Regions from separate parts of the Homo sapiens genome. Here region 2 is linked to region 1. The links are contacts of gene promoters, found by promoter capture Hi-C in blood cells and fetal thymus (Javierre and others, 2016). All regions are on one chromosome and are shown on one strand. Each heading gives the region's core, a stretch centred on a gene start or on the middle of the fragment in contact. The rest is flanking DNA. Distances are from core to core; before and after follow the strand shown.

Region 1 (3,683 bases), core at 557-3,056:
GATAGCACCACTGCACTCCAGCCCGGGCGACAAGGCCAGACCCTGTCTCAAAAAAAAAAGGGGGAGGTGGGGAGTAATGTTTGGTTTGCCTCATGGTTCCTTTTGCTTGTTTCTTATACGTTTATTTTCTTGTTGTTGAAGTACCTTTTTTAGTAGTTTTTGCAGCCAGGAGGTATAGATGGGAAGCTGCCAGTCTTTGTATGGAAATCTTTCTTTTGTCATCTAGTTTAAGCTGGGCAGCAAGAGGTAGGTTGATCTTGTGTGGGTTTGGGTTTTTTTTTTTTTTTTGAGACGGAGTCTTACTCTGTCGCCCAGGCTGGAGTGCAATGGCGTGATCTCGGCTCACTGCAACCTCTGCCACCCGGATTCAAGCGATTTTCCCACCTCGCCTCCCAAGTAGGTGGGATTACAGGCACCCACCATCATGCCTGGCTAATTTTTGTAGAGACAAGGGTTCACCATGTTGGCTAGGCTGGTCTTGAACTCCTGACCTCAGGTGATCCACCCGCCTTGGCTTCCCAAAGTGTTGGAATTACAGGCATGAGCCGCCGTGCCCGGCCTTTTTAATTTTTATTTTTTTTGAGATGGAGTCTTGCTCTGTTGCCCTGGCTGGAGTGGAGTGACGTGATCTTAGCTCACAGCAACCTCCGCCTTTTGGGTTCAAGCAGTTCTGCCTCATCCTTCCGGGTAGCTGGGATCACAGGTGCGTGCCACCATGCGTAGCTCATTTATGTATTTTTAATAGAGATGGGGTTTCACCATGTTGGCCAGCTGGTCTGGAACTCCTGACCTCAGGTGATCCGCATGCCTCAGCTCCCAAAGTGCTGGGATTACAGGCGTGAGCCACCACGCCTGGTCTTGATCTTGTTGCTTTGAAAAGTAGCAGCGCTGGTCATTGTGTTTTTGCTCAGAGGAAGGCCGCCATCTCTCTAATGTTACCTCTGGTCAGGTATTCTATCTGTTCTCTCTCAGCACAATGTGTGTAGGGGAAGCTTTGTTTCATTTATCCTGCTTTATAGCTGGTGTGCCTTTTCATTTCTGGGGAAGGAATGAAGCCATTATCACTTCAGGTATTTCTCTCCTCATCCATCTCTGAGGTGTTCTGGGTTCCATCTTCCAGAGTGTGTTTTGTTTCAGTGACTATTTTTACATCTGCTGCTCTAATTCATCATGCTCCGTTTTGTTTGACAAGTTACTGTTGGGTTATTTTTAAATTTATGCTGTTCCTTCCATTATGTTCCTGAAAATCTTTTCTTAGACTTTTCCAGATTTTTCTATTTCCTCAGGAACATATTCTGTGGTTGAGTTTCTGGGTTATTTTCTGTTATCTTAGTTTTCTTTCCTCTGCTTTGGAGATTTTATTTTTGTTAGTTTATCACAAAGAATGAAACTGAAACTCTCTCCAAGGGGTTTAGCAGACTTGACCTCTTAGGTACTTTTAGGGTTGCCTCGAAGTACACAATGTGGTGGTTTGATATAAACATAACAGGAATTTATTTCTCGCTCACAGACCCCCTACGTGGTTCCAGGCCGGTTGATGGGGAGGCCGCCCACGAGGCGGCTTAGGTCGCCCTGGCTGGCTGTATACAGACACGGAGGGGAAGAGACGTGGCGGAGCCCCTGGGTGTGAGGTTTTCATGGGCCTGACCAGAAGCTGCAAACGTCACTTCTGCTGATCTTTCAAAGACTAGAACCTGGGCACAGGGCCACCTATACGTTTAGTATACTTAGTCCAGTTCGTTTTTTGTTTGTTTTTAAAAACAGTCTTGCTCTGTGGCCCAGGCTGGAGTGCAGTGGCGCAGTCTCGGCTCACTATAACCTCCATCTCCCAGGTTCAAGTGATTCTCCCGCCTCAGCCTCCTGAGTAGCTGGGATTACAGGCTTCTGCCACCATGCCCAGCTAACCTTTTGTATTTTTAGTAGAGACGGGGTTTCATCATGTTGACCGGGCTGGTCTGGAACTCCTAACCTCAGGTGATCTGCCTGCCTCAGCCTCCCAAAGTGCTGGGATTACAGGCGTGAGCCACCACGCCTGGCCACACTTAGTCTAGTTCTATACCCTGGAGGAAGAATAAATGAGTTGGTTTGGTGAGTGCTTCGAGGTCTCTACCCGCCCTGCCTCCCAGCACAGAGCCAGGCCGCTCTGGCCTGAATACCCTGCCCGGACGTCACAGGGCCTGTCCCCTCAAAAGGCCAGTCCTGCCTTCCTGGTTCTGTTCTTGCCCAACATTCTGTATGAGTCACAGCTGCAAATTCCATTCCCGTGGGGAGGCTGACGGGTCCCTTCCCCTGTGCGGGGCATCTGCCCTGTGGAGTTGAGGCTGCCAGTGTCCGCTCTGGGTTCCCGACCACCCGGCAGCTGGCATCTCCTCCCCGCTTGGGTATGGCCATTCCGTTTCTGACCTTCAGAGGTGCGCCCCTGAGCACCCCCATGCCTCTGCGTACGTGGAGACGTCGTTGTTGCTGCCCCGTGCTTGAGGGACTCCTGGCGAGAAAGTGAGCCCAGGCTGGGAATAGGGCTGCAGCTGTTCTCTTTTGCTCCCAAACTGTGGCCTCAGAATGCATCCAGGGATTTTGCATCAGCTTTGGGGACATGGCCCTCTCAGAACAAGGAAGCTTCAGCTTTGGCAAGGCTCTCCCTCCTTCAGACCTGCCGCTGTGAGTTGTTCAATAGCTCTGTTCTCCTGGCTCTGCGTAAACCTTGTTGACAGAGGCTGACCCAGACCCCCGAGGCAGAAACCTTTCCCTTCTCCTTCCTCGACATCCAAATGCCCTGAGTCAGGAGCCAGCGTATGAAGTCCTGTCCCCTGTTCAGCCTATAGGAGGGATTTCTCGGTCTACTTCCTCCCTGGCCAGCAAGTAAAACTTGAGTTCATTCAGTGAGTATTTATTACACCCTACCCAGACATCAGCATTCTGCCCTGGCCTCTGTGTGCCCTTGTTCTCTTCAAGAAGTTCCGGGTCACCAGCCTGACCAACATGGAGAAACTCCGTCTCTACTAAAAATACAAAAATTAGCCAGGCGTGGTGGCGCATGCCTGTAATCCCAGCTACTTGGGAGGCTGAGGCAGGAGAATCGCTTGAACCCGGTAGGCGAAGGTTGCAGTGAGCCAAGATCGCCCCATTGCACTCCAAGCCTGGGCAACAACAAGAGCAAAACTCAGTCTCAAAACAAAACAAAACAAAAGAAGTTCAGGGTCTTCCCATTGCAAGCAGTTCTAGATCGAGGAGAGGGGTTCCTAGCATGGGACCCAGCAGAAGGACTGTCCTTCGCTCCTTCATTGTCTACGTGGACAGTGGATGAAGCCCAGCCGAACCTGCCTTGTTCCCGTTTTCTGGGTCAGCAGGGAAAGCCTTTCACAGAGTAGCCACCGTGCCATCCTGAGGAAGGCCCTGGGTCAGAAGCTTCTGTGCTTCTTTGTACCCCGGGCGAGACACACAGGTGCTCACACTGCTCTGTAGAAACTGTTGGCATCCAAGAGAGACTCACCTGGAAATCTCTGGAAAACCTGAAGCTCCTAGCTGGGGGTGCTGTGCTTCAGATGCTGGTGGTGGGTGGGCACCCTTGCATCAACAGCTGCACAGTGTGTGGTGGGCTTGCAGGGTCGCTTGGCAATAGTAGGAGCTCTGATTTATTTTTTTAAACTTTTTTTCTGGCTGGGCACGGTGGCTCACACCTGTAA
Region 2 (3,683 bases), core at 505-3,004, 34 kb after region 1:
AGTGCGGGATAACAGGCATAAGCCACTGAATGTTCTTATTTTTATTATCATCTGTCCCCCCAACCCCCACTAGAATGTAAGATACAGGAGGGGTTTGTTTCAGTGCCTTGCCACATTCTCAGGGCCTGGAATTGTGCCTGCAACCAAACAGGTGCTCAAGTATTTGTTGAATGAATAAATGATTTATCAGTCAGTCTCTTAGGAGTTTAGTTAGCAGGACTTGGTTGGCAAGAATCAGAGAAGTCGGGAGCCAGCCAAGAGGGGGAGGCGGAACTGCCCTGCACAGGTACTTCCCGGAGCCCCAGCTGCCTGCTCTCTTTTTAGCAGCCACACCAACAATGTATCCGTTTTTAAAGCAAATGAGGAAATAATGGTTCAACCTGGGCCTCATTCAAGTGAGAATGGCGTCATCATTACCCTGTACCTGCCCTTTAGCAAAATAGAGGGGGAAGGCCCTGCTCTGTAACCTGATGGCCTAGCAACAAGGGGCAAGGGTTAGTTGGGACAATATAGGGAGGTGACTGTCCATCCTCACCTTAATGGACATGAGGGGAGGGGAGGGAAGGATGGGGCAAGAAAGTGCAGGCAGAAAGATGGAGCAGGCAAAGATGAGGAAGCAGGCCAGGCTAGGGGCTGTCAGGGACCTTCCCCAGCGTCCCCTCCTCCCTGGTCCTGTACCCAGCTGGGTCCCAGACACTCTCCACTCCCCACCTGCCTCTATAAGGAAGGCAGCCTCGTGTATGTCAGGCCCCTGGGGGAGCCTTAACTTCACCATCCTCTCACGGCCCTCCTCCTGGTCAGAGAATCCCAACCTCCCAGGCCCCACCAGAATTCCCCAGCCCTCCACGGGGCCTCGCCCACCGGGCAGAGCTGTGAGGGTCTCAGGGGGGGCTTCTGCTCCCGATCAGGGACCTGGGGCAGAGTGATGAGGATGCACCTGCCCAGGGAATCTTCCCTCCAAACAGCCCAGCCAAAGGCTGGAAGCTGAGCAACTTCCCTGCCTGTGTGCCCCGGAGGTCCCCACACTGGCCTGCTTGGCCTGCCCATCTCCATCACTCCTAGGGCCCTGCAGGGTGAAGAGAGTGTTCCAGAACTGTCCAGCCATCCTCCAGCACACACCTCCCCACTAGTAACTCCCTTCCCAGCCGAGGCGCCCTCCACCATGGGGGTTCTGACACCAGGGTCCCAGCTGGGGGACTTCTCCCTGCAGCAGGCTATGCCACTTACCTTCCTCCCGTGCCTTGGAGAAGCTGCTGGCAGCTGTAAGAGAGGTAAGGGCGATAAGGAGAGGGCCTGGTGTGGAGGGGAGACCAGAGACAGCCTCGAGACCCACCTGCTGAAGCCAGGAGGGAGGAGCAGGCTGATTCTTGGTAGTGAGGCCCCAGGACTCAGCTGGCACCATCACTCACAAAAGCTCTTTTGCGCCCCTCCCCCCACAACATCGCCTCTCATCCGCCCATTTCGCAGATGGGTAAGTAGTGAGCCCAGAATGGTGCAGAAATCCCTGGACCACATATACAGCAAGTTTAGGGGCTGGTCCGAGACTCAAGCCCAGATCTTTCCCTCTCTGTCCATGTTTCCAGAGGTGCCCTTCCTTCAGGCCTCATCTCTCCTGTGCTCCCAGTACCCCCACCTGAGCCCAAGACCTCAAGGCCCCAGCAGCAGCCCCACCATCACGTCCCTGGTGGACTCACCCAGCACGGCCAAGCAGAACAGCCCAGGGAGCCCCATGCCTCGGTGGGTGTAGGGCCTCTGCTCGGGCAGTGAGAACCTCCTAGTTCCTGGCCTCCCCCACCCTGAGGCCCCTGGGATGCTCCCTGGGTGGGTGCCTGCAGTGGGGAGATAACCTGGAGGCCGCAGCACCCCAGGGCCTCAGCTACCAGGGCGGGGCCCAGAGAGCCCCGGCAGGCCCGGTACAGCAAACTCCCCCTCAATCCCCAGAGAAGTGGAAGGAGTTTGGACCTTGAAGCCAGACCAGGGCTTAGACTCAGCAGTCACCTCTGAGCCGCAGGATCCCGGGCTCACGTGGTGGGCAGAAGGTGTCCATGCTCCGCGGGGCACAGTGGCTCACACCTGTAATCCCAGCACTTTGGGAGGCCTGGATGGGCGGATCACCTGAGGTCAGGAGTTCGAGACCAGCCTGGCCAACATGGCGAAACTCCATCTCTACTAAAAATCAGCCGGGCGTGGTGGCGTGCGCCTGTAATCCCAGCTACTCGGGAGACTGAGGCAGGAGAATTGCTTGAACCCAGGAGGCGGAGGTTGCAGTGAGCCAAGATCACGCTACTGCACTCCAGCCTGGGCAACAGAGTGAGATTCCATCTCAAAAAAAAAAAAAAAAAAAAAGATGTCCACGCTGTAACTTCTGGAGCCCGTGAGCACCATGCTACGCGGCAAGGGGAATGAAGGCTGTGAGTCTTCTCATTTTGAGAGGAGGAGCCCGTCCTACATGACCCAGGTGACCCTCATGTAATCACTGGGGCCTTTCCAAGCAGCTGGGGACCTGCTGGGCTGAGAAAAGGCAGCCCCACCCATGATGGTTCACAGCCGGGAGGCCAAGGCTGCACCCAGCCCCAGAATGAAACCCCAGACCGACGAGGCCCCTGGTCCTGGAGTGTGATGGGTCCTGGAGTCCTGGGTCCCGGAGCGTGGTGTGCCCAAGCACCGCCCTTCAGAAGTCCCTCAGGCCCCACTGAGGGTGGTGGGAGGTCACATGGATGGTCATTCCCCAGGGAACTGGCCCCAGTGCTGGCCTTGGCCAGCAGCAGACCCAGCTGCATCGCAGGCAGTGTGTGTGCAGAGTTCAGCCACAGAGCCTCCTGCACATGCAGGGAGGGTGGGGGTGAGCAGGGCCTCCCAGAGCCCCGAGGCCAGGGCTGGGGCCAGGCATTCCCCGGAACACAGAGAGATGTAAGGGCGCAAGGGATTGAGGCTGGGGCCCTGCCAGCTCCGCTGTGGGCCACTGCACCCGGCTTTGTGCCCAAGCTCAGCCTGGGGCTGCTGGACCAGCCTGTCACTTTCTGGCCCGGCTCAGTTTCCCACACTTTGTGTGGGGAATGCCTTTTCTGGCTGCCTCCTTCAGGAATATGTCCCCTGCCACCAGGTGACCATTGCCTCCTGTGGGAGCTGCTGCCACCTGTGGCTCCTGACCGGTCAATCACACTCTCTGCCCCTGGGCACCGTCCAGGAGTGAACACCTGACCAAGGGAGGCCACTCACAGCCCCGGCCCAGCTCTCCTCTCAGCCTTTCCCAGGCACTTGCTGCACCGGAGGCCTGGGTGTGTTGGGAAGCTGGTCTGAGGGAGTGGCCCTGCTGACCAGGGAGTGGCCAGAAGGATGGTGGGGAGGCAGGTGCAGGTGTCCTGGAGGTCACTGCAGACTGGCTCTGTTGACCCCTCGGTGGCCCCCTCTCCCAGCTGGCATGAGTCCGTTTCTGCACCTTGCTACCCATGGTCCCGGGGATGGAGGCTGCCTCCTGTGCACCCACCGGCCTCTCTGTTTTCGGTTTCTCCCAGCTGGGGAGCAAGAGCATTTTCTCTTAGTTTCTTAGTAAAACTCCCTTCCCTTCCCAAAGTCTGTTCTCACTTCTGCTGAAGGCGGGTGGGGAAGGGAACTGAAGACTGAAGGGAGCCAGAGGTCACTGGGGAGCTGGCTGGCTGCCCAGGCCCTGGGCTGCTGGCAGC

What was found. Contacts are between HindIII fragments. The CHiCAGO score rates a contact against its expected background, and 5 or more counts as called.
Region 2: the fragment with the promoter of C17orf99 here is called in contact with a fragment that was not itself captured in region 1 in 1 of 17 cell types (total B cells); the score reaches 5.8 in total B cells.

Annotation. Positions count from the first base shown.
Region 1 is chr17:78,178,143-78,181,825 of GRCh38, reverse strand. The region is part of intron 4 of TK1 (thymidine kinase 1); the gene reads left to right. Among named protein-coding and RNA genes, the nearest start is that of TK1, 7.1 kb to the left of the region's middle. The HindIII fragment of the contact is 1,624 bases long and covers 995-2,618 here.
Region 2 is chr17:78,144,456-78,148,138 of GRCh38, reverse strand. C17orf99 (chromosome 17 open reading frame 99) reads right to left here and starts at 1,754. Exons shown (of 5, transcript NM_001163075.2): 1 at 1,695-1,754; 2 at 1,228-1,260. The coding sequence starts at 1,731. RefSeq lists an enhancer at 512-731. The HindIII fragment of the contact is 9,063 bases long and covers 1-3,683 here.